3 separate regions of the Homo sapiens genome follow, and regions 1 and 2 are each linked to region 3. Evidence: promoter capture Hi-C in 16 types of primary human blood cells and fetal thymus (Javierre and others, 2016). All regions are on one chromosome and are shown on one strand. The core of a region is centred on a gene start or on the middle of the fragment in contact, and the rest is flanking DNA. Distances in the headings are between cores, read along the strand shown. Region 1 has its middle 22 kb from the start of ZKSCAN7. Region 2 overlaps ZNF852 (zinc finger protein 852). Region 3 holds the start of TGM4 (transglutaminase 4).

The links. The method cuts DNA at HindIII sites, captures the fragments that hold promoters and counts their contacts. A CHiCAGO score of 5 or more calls a contact.
Region 1: a contact is called between a fragment that was not itself captured here and the fragment with the promoter of TGM4 in region 3, in 16 of 17 cell types (M1 macrophages, naive CD8 T cells, M2 macrophages and 13 more). The highest score is 13.4, in M1 macrophages.
Region 2: a contact is called between a fragment that was not itself captured here and the fragment with the promoter of TGM4 in region 3, in 1 of 17 cell types (total CD8 T cells). The highest score is 5.2, in total CD8 T cells.

The regions. Positions count from the first base shown.
Region 1 is chr3:44,530,735-44,535,375 of GRCh38, reverse strand. No RefSeq gene overlaps it. Among named protein-coding and RNA genes, the nearest start is that of ZKSCAN7, 22 kb to the left of the region's middle. RefSeq lists silencers at 2,205-2,499, 2,391-2,519. The HindIII fragment of the contact is 4,223 bases long and covers 1,263-4,641 here.
Region 2 is chr3:44,492,205-44,496,382 of GRCh38, reverse strand. It overlaps ZNF852 (zinc finger protein 852), which reads left to right. Exons shown (of 4, transcript NM_001423469.1): 4 at 1-4,178. Among named protein-coding and RNA genes, the nearest start is that of ZNF852, 16 kb to the left of the region's middle. The HindIII fragment of the contact is 5,935 bases long and covers 1-4,178 here.
Region 3 is chr3:44,872,873-44,877,680 of GRCh38, reverse strand. TGM4 (transglutaminase 4) reads right to left here and starts at 3,073. Exons shown (of 14, transcript NM_003241.4): 1 at 2,984-3,073. The coding sequence starts at 3,002. It also overlaps the pseudogene PPIAP18. The HindIII fragment of the contact is 7,350 bases long and covers 1-3,364 here.

The DNA of each region.
Region 1 (4,641 bases), core at 2,125-4,624, 340 kb after region 3:
CAATGAACATTTTGGATTATTCCCAGGAAGATAGTCTGTGATTTGCAATAACATCATAAGGAAAATAATTTAAAAATATGGGCCCAATATGTTCTTTATTTGGCTCCCCTATGAGTCCTCAAACAGAAGCACCCCTGGGTGGAGTCAAGAGAGGCAACAAAGGAAAGGAGGTTTTGGGTTTGTAGAAATGCCTAAAGTCATCCTGCTCCAGTGCCTGGAGGGCACTGCAGAATCACTGGTGCTGCTGTTAAATCTAGTGCAGATGACAAGTTATGAGAAAGTGTATTTATGTTGCCTTATCTGTTACAGTGATTGTTTGGGGAAACCAGCCCCACACCACCTGCTACCCTGAGTCCAGCGGAGACAAAGGAGTTAGAAAGAGACAGAATAAGCGTTTAAAAAGCAGGTCCAGGGGACCTGAGCATCGGAGGCTTGCTCACAGCCCAGGCTCTGCCTGATTTATTGGTTTACAAGCTCTTTGTTCTTAGGGCAGATGGGAGGGGTAGGAAGGGATGAGGAAAAGGATTAATCAGTGAAGGAGAACTCATGAGTCATTCAATAATATGTGTAGCTGTGGTGGTTTCTGTGAATTTCCTTGAGCAAAGGCATGTGTCTAAACTACTTAAGATCTTTAACTTATCGGGACTGAAATGGGTGGGAGTGGCTTTCAGGAGGGGCCAAGATGTTTGATTATACTCCACTGCTTCAAGGGAGTGTTACCTCCTTGAGCAACTGTGGAATTCTGCTGAGTGGTTATGCTGTCGGGGCATAAAGACATGAAGGCAATAAGAAGACTTTTCTCCTCAGAGGCCGCCCATGGCTCCCCTTGGGTGTCTCACACAGGGAAGACCAACTCAGCTGGCACCGCAGAAACTCTCTTTCCCACAGTGATCAGTATAGCTGCCCAAAAGATACTGTGGATGGAAGGGCCAGCTGCCACATACCCTCCTGATGGAAGTACCGAGTACATTGGCCTGAGACTGGAGTCCTCTCCAATAGCCCACTGTCCAGCCCCTGGCCTTACCAACGCTCAGGACAGATTAGAAATGGACCGTAAGTCAACAGCACCCTCCTTTCCTCAACTTGCCACTTGGGTGGGCATTAGCTCATCCAGAGAATTTGATTTGGCAGATACCATGCTTCTTTTATATCATTTCTTTGCCACCTAATTTGTACTTATGATTGTAGAAATATAAGAAAATATAAAGAAGTAAAAGAAGAAAATAAAAAGAAATTATATTTCAAAGATAACCAGTTAAGCTTTGGTCTTTTTTAAATAGACATTTAAATTAAGGAGTAGTGCTAAAAAAAATACATAGAAGCACATACTTTTTTTCCTTACAAAACCAGATGGTGGGAGAAATGAAGCTCTGCAGGGCATTAGGTCAGATCTTCCTTTCACTTTATTGTAGAGTAGCCTCCACTGCAGGGAGAGAATTCAGCCTGGCACGTCACCTCATGCTATCCAGTGAACCCTGCCCCTCACAGAACACAATTCTGGTCACTCTGGGTGACAGAAGGGGACTTGTAGTCAGTTTCAGCTGCAGAAGGGGTTACTAGCCATGTATAGAACTTTTTTAATTCCAAGAAGTTATGATTTTTAGAATAACTCTAAACAGGCTGGGCGTGGTGGCTCACACTTGTAATCCCAGCATTTTGGGAGGTCAAGGTTGGCAGATCACCTGAGGTCAGGCATTTGAGACCAGCCTGGCCAACATGGTGTAACCTCGTCTCTACTGAAAGTACAAAAATTAGCTGGGCGTGGAGGTGCAGGCTTATAATCCCAGCTACTTGGGAGGCCGAGGCAGGAGAATCACTTGAACCTGGGAGGTGGAGATTGCAGTGAGCTGAGATCATGCCACTGCACTCCAGCCTGGGTGACAGAGCAACACTCCGTCTAAAAAAAAAAAAAAGAATAAACCTAAATATAATCCTAATGTTATACACCTTCCTGTCACCTTCCATCTTGGTGTGCACTTAACACCCCTGAACAGGTTTGACCAGCTCCTTAGAACCATAGTAAAAGACTTTACAATTTGAGAAGGGAACATGAAGAAAAATTTAATCTCATTTATCAAAGTAATACATATTAATCCTGAAAAAATAATTCAGAAATACAGAGGGTAAAAGCAGTCATTCTACTTTTGCATTTAAAAAGTTCTTTGTTGTTTTGGGTTTCCCTAGTATGTTTCTAAGGGGTGTGGGTTGGCTTCACACTCGTCTCTTTCTTTTTGTAGACCCATTTGCCTTATATATTTTAAAGCTGTGCTGATAGGTTCAGGGTGCATGTAAGTTTATGACAAATCATTCAATAGTTACGGAACGGTTGCTGTACACCAGGCACTGTCCAGGGTCCTGAAAAGAGTCAAGAACAGGATAGAACAGGCTAGAAGCGCCATCTAGTGGATGGTACTTGTTTTATACAAAATTTAGCCGGGTGTGGTGGCGCACGCCTGTAATCCCAGCTACTTGGGAGGCTGAGGCAGGAGAATTGCTTGAACGCTGAAGGCGGAGGTTGCAGTGAGCCGAGATCGCACCACTGCACTCCAGCCAGGGCGACAGAGCAAGACTCCGTCTCAAAAAAACAAAAAAGAAATAAATTGGACTATTTGAAGGAGAATCCTTAGTGTTCCCCCCTACCCCCATTTGCTCTCGCTGTCTCTGAGACAGGGTCTCACTCTGTCGCCCAGGCTGGAGTGAAGTGGTGTGATCATAGCTCACTGCATCCTTGACCTCCTGGGCTCAAGCTGTCTTCCCTCCTCAGCTTTCTGAGTAGCTGGGACTATAGGTGTGTGTCACCACGTCCAGCTGATTTTTATATTGTTTTTTTGTAGAGACAGGGGTCTCACTATGTTGCCCAGGCTGGTCTCAAACTTCTGGCCTCAAGTAATCCTCCTGCCTCAGCCTCCCAAAGTGCTGGGATTACAGGCACGAGCCACCGTGCCCAGCCTCTCAGTTCTCTGTTTTCATCATAATTCAACATTTCACAGATTAGTGTTAGTAGTCTATGTCATAAGAAGTTTATTTATAAAGGTAACAAATAGGTTGAAAGATAATTACAGTAATTCTTATGCTCCTATATTAACAAGTATTGAAAAACTTCACCCTCCTTTCTTAGGGGGTGCCATTTAAACTAACAGATGAATTTTAAAGGACTGCTATACCCCTGAAGGTGTGAGAAAGGAGCATTCTATGCAGTGGGAAAAGTTGCTGCAAAGGCTCAAGATGTAACTGATTGGGCTGATCAGGTGACAGAAGGGAGGCCACTGTGCCTGGATGAGAGTCACAGTGTCAGAGGTGCAGTCAGAGTTGGGCAGAGGCCTGCCTGCGGAAGACCATGTTGGCCAGGTTAACCAATTTGAAGTTGCTTGGGGGAGATTAATTTCAGTGTCAGGAGGCCAGTTAGAGCACCATTGCAGGACTACATTTGAGAGAAGATGGTGGCCAGGACTAGGGATGATGTGCTGTGGAGATGGAAAGAAATGGGTGGATTTACAATGCATTTTGGAAGAAGAATAAACTGGACTTGCTGATGTTTTAGATGTGAGAGGGTGGAGAATTAAGAGCAACTTCTAGACTGGGCGTGGTGGTTCATGCCTGTAATCCCAGCACTTTGGGAGGCTGAGGCAGATGGATCACTTGAGGTCAGGAGTTTGAGACCAGCCTGGCCAACATGGTGAAACCTTGTCTCTACTAAAAATACAAAATTAGCCAGGCATGGTGGTGTATGCCTGTAATCCCAGTTACTTGGGAGGCTGAGACAGGAGAATCGCTTGAACTCAGGAGGCAGAGGAGGTTGCAGTGAGCCGAGATTGTGCCATTGCACTCTAGCCTGGGCAACAAGAGGGAAACTCCATCTCAAAAAAAAAGAAAAAAAGAGTAACTTCTAGGTTTCCTGACTTGGACATTGTTCGACAACTTAGGGATTGATTATTGGTTTTTTATCAATATGAAATATTCCATTCTATGCCCATTAAATGCTTAGCCTTAGAGTCTGTTTTGTCTCATATTAATAATTCTACACAGCTTTTTCTCTTGTTGTTAGAACTTGCTTGGTGTACCCTTTTTCCTTCCTTTCTTTTCAACCTTTTCTATTGTTTGGTTTTATTGTAGGTAAATCTCTTGTAAAAAGTCTCCTCCCTTCTCTGTCTCCCTCCTTCCTTTTAATGAGGAAACATAACATGTTTGTATACATTGTGATTAAGGATAGACTTGGACTTTGTAACACTATATTAGTGTCTTTTATGGCCCATGCTTTCTCTCCTATATTCCTCCTTGTCTGCTCTTTGGTGCAGTAAAAATTGAGTGGAAAAACCAGAAACAGGGAGACTTAGAAGGCTTACACCCGTAGGCACACTGGGTCTTTCTAGAGTCACCTTCATCTTTTCTGGGCCCACCTCACATGCAGAGCTTTCTGGTTTAAGACACAGCGAGATAGCTCCCTCTTCATGGCCTGTACCCACTCCCCATTGAAAGCATTGTTTCTCATTCTTTCAAAGACTGTGTTCCTTTCAAATTTTTTTTTTTTTTTTTTTTTTTTCCTGAGACAGCCTTACTCTGCCACCCAGGCTGGAGTACAGTGGTGCAATCTAGGCTCACTGCAAACTCTGCCTCCCAGGTTCAAGCAATTCCCTGCCTCAG
Region 2 (4,178 bases), core at 149-2,648, 380 kb after region 3:
CCTGGCCAACATTGTAAAACCCCGTTTCTACTAAAAATACAAAAATTAGCTGGGTGTGGTGGTGCACGCCTGTAATCCCAGCTATTCAGGAGTCTGAGGCAAGAGAATCACTTGAACCTGGAGGGCAGAGATTGCAGTGAGCCAAGATCACACCACTGTACTGCAGCCTGGGCAACAGAGCGAGACTCTGTCTCAATAACAACAACAAAACAACAAACCGGAGCTCATGACACGGCTGGAATTTTACCATTTGTGAATATGTATTTTAAATGTTTTCAGCTTGTTTTTTTGTATTTTTTTCCATTTTCTTTTAAAAGATATGCAGATAGGACTTTTTCCTCTTTAACTGTCTTATTTTGGGAGCCCCCAGATTTCAGGGAAGAGCCCCACACTATATGAGCACATGAGTTGGACATTTCTGGTTCCCCGCCCTGAGTTGGACATTGCCAGTCATGTCTGCAGAAGAACCATCCTGCCTGTTGGAAGCTGCAGTTTTACCTTCTGGTTCTTGCCTGCTCATCCCCTACCATACTAAGCCTCCAGAGTGTGGGAATGTGCACCATTTCCTAACTATATTAACTCACTGCCACCAGTCTGGTGTGGGTGCTCAGTACAAGTGAATCCTGAAAAAGCCTCAGGCTCTTGGATGGAGGAAAACTGGCTGCATTTGAAAGCCATACTTCAATTTCTATTGGTCACTGCTAGTATAAACTTTAATTATTGATTTAAACAAATTTTATCTGGATCCAATTATGTTGATAAATTATTTTTAGGTTTAATAATTTGTTAGATTCATTTCCTAGCTTTTCTAGGTTTAGAATAAATAATGATTTATTTGTCTTTTGATGTCACTTATGTTGTGCATTAGCAAGAACTTCAGAAAACATGGAACAGTAGATGTCTTTCTCTTAACGCTTGGGGGAATGTTTTTAGTATTCTGCAGTTTCATATCGTGTTCATTGTTGGATTCTGATGTTCTGTTAGATTTAGGAAGTTTCCTTCTAATCTTATTTCTAGAAGAAGCAGTGTAGTTTAGTGGTTAAGAGCACAGATTTTGTTCCCAGTGCCCTAGGTTCAAATCCTGAGTCCACCACTTTGTTAGGTGTGTGATCCTGGGCAAATCACTTACCTTCCTTGTATCTTATTCCTCCATCTATAAAATGGAGCTACCTCATAGGGTTGTGAAGAATACATTATTGTAACAATACTGGGCACACAGTGCACAGTTTCCCAATTATTATTATACTTACAGTTTTGTTTTCTGTTTTTTTTTTTGACAAGGTCTCCCTCTGTTGCTCAGGCTGGAGTGTAGTGATGTGACCATAGGTCACCTCAGCCTTGAACTCCTGGGCTCAAGAGATGCTCCTGCCTCAACCTCCCCTATAGTTAGGAATACAGGCATGTGCCACCATGCCCGACTAAGTTTTTATTTTTATTTTTTGTAAACATGGGGTTTCACTATTTTGCTCAGGCTGGTCTTGCGGTCCTGGCCTCAAGCGATCATCCTGCCTCAGCTTCTCTAAGTGCTGGGAATACAGGTGTGAGCCACCATGCCTGGCCTATACTTAAAAAGTTTTTATTAGGATTGGTTGCTATATTATATCAAGTTTAAAAACTCCATCATTGTAATTTTATGAGTTATGGTTTTTTCTTTTTGTAATTCATTTTCTTGACAAGTTTGCAAATATTTGCAATTTCCTTGTACTTTTCAAGTAAAATCTATTTGTTCATAGTGAATTTTTATTAAGTACAGAAGTAGATTCAATTTGGTAATGCTTTGCTAGCTTTGCAAAAGAATTTGGAAAAAATTTTGTTTATCTTATTGCTATGGAGAGTTTGTATAACATGGGAATTGTTCCTTGAAGGCTTGCTAAAAGTAACTGGGCCTGGTTCTTTGGGTGAGGGGATTGGGAGGGATATATCTTTAGCAACTGTTTTAGTCAGTTTGAGCTATTATAACAAAATACCATAGAGGATGGCTTAAACAACAGACATTTATTTCTCACAGTTCTGTAGTCTTCATAATTCAACATCAAGATGCCAGAATGGTTGAGTGCTGGTGAGGGCTCTCTTCCTGGTTTGCAGATGGCCCCCTTTTTCCTGTGTCCTCAAATTTCAGAGAGCAAGAGCACTGGTGCCTCTTCCAAGTCTTTTAAGGGCGTTAGTGAGAGTGACAGCCCCATTCTCATGACCTACTCCAATCCTAGTTATTTTCCAAAGGCCCCCCACCCCCAAATATAACATTTGGGGTTAGGGCTTCAACATAAATATTCATTCTATAACATTCCACTCCTAGCCACTCTATTCATATCCTTACATACAAAATAAGTTCATTCCATCCTAACAGCCTCCAAAGTTTTAACTCATTCTAGTATCAACTAACATTTAAAGTCCAAAGTCTCATCTAAATATCTAAATATCTAAATAAAGGCCGGGCATGGTGGCTCACGCCTGTAATCCCAGCACTTTGGGAGGCCGAGGCGGGTGGATCACTACGTCAGGAGTTCGAGACCAGCCTGACCAACATGGTGAAACCCCATCTCTACTAAAAATACAAAAATTAGCTGGGCGTGATGGTGTGCACCTGTAATCCCAGCTACACGGGGAGGCTGAGGCAGGAGAATCGCTTGAACCCGAGAGACAGAGGTTGCAGTGAGCCGAGATCGCACCATTGCACTCCAGCCTGGGCGACAGTGAGACTTTGTCTCAAAAATATCTAAATCAGATATGGGTGAGACCCAAGGTTTAGCTTATCCTGAGGCAAAATTCCCCTCCAGCTGTGAACCTATGAAACCAGACAAGTTATGTGCTTCCAAAATACAGTGATGGGATAGGCAGGATTAGGTATTCCAATTCCAAAAGTGAGAAATTGGAAGGAAGAAAGGGATGATGAGGCTGGGTGTGATAGCTCATGCCTTTAATCCTAGCACTTTGGGAGGCTGAGGTGGGAGGATTGCTTGAGTCCAGGAGTTCGAGACCAGCCTGGGCAACATAGGGAGACCTTATTTCTACAAAAATAATAAAAATAATTAGTTGGGCATGGTGGCTTGAGCATGGGAGTTCGAGGCTACAGTGAGTTGTGATCGTACTGCACTCCAGCCTGGATGACAGAGTGAAACCCTATCAATAAAAAATAAAAAAGGATGGGGGAGCAGGGGGATGATGGTCCTATGCAAGTCTAAAACTTAGCAAGGCACGTTTCATGAGATCTTAGGCTCATGAATAATCCTCTTTGGTCCTATACTGTCCTCTCCAGGACCCCCTGGGCGGTGGTCCTGACCCGATAGATCTGCCAGGCAGGGGTGACTCCCCCGTGGCTTTTGTTGGAGACCATCTGGCCTGTGGAAACTGGGGCAGTATCCCTCATGATCTCTAAATAGCCAAGAGAAGAGTCATTCTTGTATGGAACAATGGACATTCACAGCCTTCCTCATTCCTGGCTTTAGGACTTCAGATACAATCATGTCAGAGCTCAGGGCTTCAACATATGAATTTTGGGGGCACAGTTCAGTCCATAGCAATACTTCCATTCCCCTGACCTGCAACATGTCCAGTTACTTCGAAAAGTACTTGTCATCCACTATATTAATAACATGCTCATTGCCAGCCTATGAAACAAGTTGACCACTCCATACATAAGGTCATAGATAATATGACACATGCAGGTTGAGTTGTCAGCCCTGATAAGATCCCAAGACTTGCCCAACAAGTGCAGTCCCTGGAGCTACCTGGTCCAGTAATTAGAGGAGTATTCCTGATAAAGTCAAATATTGTCCTTGGCAGCCCCCACCTAAAAGAAGCTCAATAGCTGGTATGCCTGTTTGTCTATTGGAGATAACATGTATCACATCTGAGTATTATTTTGCCTCCTTTAGTTAAAATTACCCACAACACAGCCACCTCTGAATGGGGCCCTCAACAACAGCAGACTCGAGAGGCCTACTATGCATTAACATGGGCCTGACATTAATGTAGGCCCATGGAACTACAGGTCTCATTGACTCTTACCCATACAGATTGGATACTGCGGCAACAAGAGACTGCTATCAGGATGCACCAGGCCCTTAGGTTTTGGACATATAAATTACCCAAGATGGTTGCCATATACATTCCCTTTGAATGGCAGCTACTAGCCTGCTATTGGACTCTAATTTAAACAGAACACTTGACCACTGAAG
Region 3 (4,808 bases), core at 1,824-4,323:
TATTAAACTTTTAATCTTGGCTAATCTGATAAATGAAAAAATGAAATCTCATTGCTGTTTTGCTTTTATATAACCTTTTTTTTTTTTAAGAGACAGAGTCTTGGCCTGTCACCCAGGCTGAAGTGCAGTGTTGCAATCATGGCTCACTGCAGCCTTGAACCTGAGTAGCTGAGTAGCTGGAACTACCGATATGCACCACCATGTCTGGCTAATTTTTATTTTTATTTATTTATTTATTTTTGAGACAAAGTCTCGCTCTGTTGCCCAGACTGGAGTGCAGTCTCAGCTCACTGCAGCCTCCGCCTCCCAGGTTCAAGCAATTCTCATGCCTCAGTCACCCAAGTAGCTGGGATTACCGGTGTACCCCACCACACCCGGCTAATTTTTGTATTTTTTAGTAGAGACGGGGTTTCACCATGATGGCCAGGCTTGTCCCTAACTTCTGATCTCAAGTGATCTGCCCACCTTGGCTTCCCAAAGTGCTGGGATTACAGGCATGAGCCACCTTGCTGGGCCACGGCTAATTTTTAAATTGTTTTGTGGAGACAGGGTCTCACTATGTTTTCCAGGCTGGTCTCGAACTCCTGGGCTCAAGCAATCCTCCTACCTCAGCCTCCCAAATTTTGGGGATTATAGGCATGAACCACCATACCTGGCCTGCTGTTTCAGTTTTATTTCATGACCACCCTCGTTACAAGTAAGGTTGAGCATCTTTTCATATATTACAATTTATATTTCTTTTTCTTTGAACTACCTAATACTGCTCTTTGTCCATGTATATTTTGGGATGTTGGTCATTTTCTTATAGATCTGAGAGCTCTTTTTATACTACAGAACAGCATTTGCTTCTCATATGTGTTGAAAGTACCCTTCACAGTTCCATTACCTTCTGACTCTGGAGGTTTTGTCTTACACATATTTTTAATTTTTCTGGAGTCAGTTTTACTGTTCTTTTCCTTTATGTTTCTAGGTTTTCTATTTTCCTTTGTAACACCTTCTCTACTCTAAGATTATTTTTCATATTGCCTTCATTTTCTTCTATTGCCTTTACAGTTTCGTCTTCGACCTTTCTGGGATTCGTTGTGGGATAAGCCATGAGATAGATATCTGGCTTTGTTTTTCTCTAAATACTAACCAGTTGTCCTAATACCATAAAGTGCACAATTTCTCATTTCCTCCATTTATATGAAATCCTACCTTTATCCCACACATATCACCATCTTCCAGGTCCCTATTTGGATGTCCTGACCTCCTAGAGTGGTTGGAAGAACAAATGAAATCATATTCATGAAAACACCATGGAGTCATCACAACTTGCTAATGTTGTAAGGTGGCATGTGATGGTTACTTGCACAAGCCCATCAGAAAGGACACCTCAGGGAGCGTCAGCTCCCCTCACCAACACCCCAACACTGGTGGCCAGGAGATGACTGTCTTTGGTGATTTAGACCTTGAGAGTAAAGTCAAATTGTGCCCAGCAGGGAGGCAGCATAGTGTGGCATGAAATGAACACACGCCGGGTTTGTGTCCCAGCTCTGCCACCCATGGCTGGGACCTCAGTCAAGTCATCAAACCTCCCCAGTGAACAGGTCACACCTCTTGAAAATGACAGTGTGGGTCAGGACTACCTTTCCTTCAGGTAGTCCTCAGTAATTTATATAGTGCTTTCACGGGATTGATGTAACCTGCCCAAAGCCACAGGGCTATTTAGACATGAATCTTCTCTCAAATCAGCAGGTGCTTCCCATCACACCACACCACCCTTTCTCAGTCCTAAGGACTCTGTACCCTCCAAGACTGAGTCTAGCTGAGGCGTCAGCCATCTAAGGAGGAATTCAAAACTCTGTGGCCTTGGGACTAAAAAGAAGAGTCTGATTTATTTCGCAATGTCACCCTCCAAAAAAGAAGGTGGAAACTAGGAGGGTCTGGCTTAGTCCCTTTGCAGAGTTTCAAAGCAGCCATTCCTTGGCTTATCAAGCAGCTTCTCAAGCAAGAGAGAAGGCTGCTGAGCAAACCCTGCTGGGAGGTTACAGAGGGCTTGTGGGCTGGGGAGTCAGCAGAGGGGTTCAAACCCAGCCTCGTTGTTCCCTAGCAGCACCCGGACTCCCTGAAGTAAAACTGAGGGCTCTGGTGTCTGCTCTTGGTGGTGGTAGGCGGCTGCATCCTCATGGGACACAGAGCCTGGCACATGACTCCGCTCTGCTATTCCCCACTCTGAGAAGCAATGACACTGCTGACAGCAGCAGACAGACCCTCTGCAGTAGGGAAATCCATCAGGTGACCTTGAGAAAGGACAGGACACATTGAGAGACATTCTACAAAATAACTGGTCTGTACTCTTCAAAAGTGTTGAAGTCACAAAACTCCAAGAATGACAGAAGAACTATTCCAGACAAAGGAGACCGAAGAGGCACAACAACGGAATGCAAAGCCTAACCCAGGATTTTCTTCTGCTATAAATGACATTATTGGGACAGTTGATGAAATCTGCATAAAATCTGTGGGTTGGATAACAGTATTGAAATGGTGTTCATGTCCTGGTCTTCATAATTGTATTGGTTACGTAAGAGAATGTCCTTGTCTTTAGGAAATACACACCAAAATATTTAATAATGTAATATCTGCAACTTACTCTCAAGAGTTCAAAAAATATATATTTGTCTATCTATCTGTCTATATCATCTATCTGTCCACTGATCGAGAAGGATAAAGCAAATGCAGTAATAATTTAGGGAATCTGGATAAAGGATATATGGAAATTCTTCTTTTTATTCTTGCAATCTTTTTGTAAATCTGAAATTATGCCTAAATGAAAAGTTTGTGGGTTTTCTAAAAAGGGATGAGACAGAAAGCAAGCAGCACCAGGGCCACAAGTCAGGGTGAGAGGGCAATGGCCCCAGGCACCCGGCAGAGGCAAGAGAGCAGTTTAGGGCCAGCTGGCTGAAGGGGCATGTGGGGCTCCATGGAGATTTCACCCACTCACCTTTTGATGCATCCATCATCCCTTCAGATTCTCTCCTGCAATGCCAGGGAAGACTCTATCTCTGATGCCTGGTGCTTCCACACAGTCGGTCCTCAGGGGAGGAAACAGCCCTTTTTATGTGATCCTGGGCTAGATGTGGCCTTGCTATGGCTGCCAAGGGGCGGGGTTTGGGAAGGCGATGTTGATTAGAAATAATAAAATCCCGGAATCTTCCATATCAGACCCAGGAAATCAGGAGCCAAGATGAGCTGATGTAAAAGGGACAGACAACGGACAATGGCACCTCCTTGTCTGTTATATGAGCCTAACAGTGGGTGACCAAAAGCCAGGACCCTATGACCTACACCACATGTGGCCTGACATTCTGGTTACTATCAAGCTTAAGTCTAGGAACCCAGGCTAACCTTTACTGACTTTAGGGTTTTCTTCTTCTTCTCTTTTCTTCAAGTTGAAAAAGTAAGAGATGCTTGTGAGTTTTTTGTTTTACATTTTGAATATATAATGCATCCACATGGTTCAAAATGGAAAAAAATGCCCCCTGTCCACCTTGTTGAATCCTACTACCAGTTTCTTTTAGATCTTTCCAGAGATGTTGTATGCACTGAGAAGCAAATAATGTACTATTATTATTATTTTGTTATTTAGTTTTTATTTCATAATCATAAACTTAACTCTGCAATCCAGCTAGGCATGGAAGGGAACAAGGAAAACATGGAACCCAAAGGGAACCGCAGCGAGAGCACAAAGATTCTAGGATACTGGGAGCAAATGGGGTGGAGGGTGCTCCCCTGAGCTACAGAAGGAATGGTCTGGTGGTTAAGATAAAACACAAGTCAAACTTATAAGAGCTGTCCACAGTCAGCAATGGTGATCTTCTGGCCGGTCTTGCCATTCCTGGACACAAAGCACTCCATGGCCTCCACAATATTCATGCCTTCACCTTGCCAAAGACCACAAGCTTGCCATCCAACCACTCAGTCTTGGCAGTGCAGATTAAAAACTGGGAACCATTTGTATTGGGTCCAGCATTTGCCATGGACAACATGCCAGGACCTGTATGCTTTAGGATGAAGTTCTCATCATCAAATTTCTCCCCATAGATGGACTTGCCACCAGTGCCATTATGGCGTATGAAGTCACCACCCTGACACATAAACCCTGGAATAATTCTGTGAAAGCAGGAACTCTTATAACCAAATCCTTTCTCTCCAGTGCTCAGAGCACAAAAGTTTTCTGCTGGCTTTGGAACCTTGTCTGCAAACAGCTTGAAGGAGACGCAGGTCTAAAGGCTTGCCGTCAACGGTGATGTTGAAGAACACGGTGGGGTTGACGATGGCTGATGTTACAGGGCTCCTGGCGGCAGTGGCATCTGCAAAGCAAATAATGTATTATTTTGTTTTATTTACACAATGAGAGCATATCACTGCATTGCCCAGGCTGGTCTGGAATGCCTAGGCTCAAGGGATCCGCCCCACCTTCACCTCCCAAAGTACTGGGATTACAGGTGTGAGCCACCACGCCTGGCAAGATGGAGCTGTTCCTATTGCACATGGAGAGGTGGCCCAGTCTTTTCACAGCTGCACATATTCTGTTTGTGTGGATGGTCCCTAATTTATGTAACTCACCTCCCACCCATAGGCATCTGGGTTGCTTCCAATATTTCCTTATTACAATCAGTGTTGCAAAGAATAAGGTTATACAGAGATCATTTTACCCTCACATGAGTGTATCTATAGGAAGAATTGAATGCCTTGAAGTGGAAATGTTGGGCCAAAAAGCATAAGCTTTTGTAATTTTAATGGCTATCTGCTCTGCTCTCCACAGG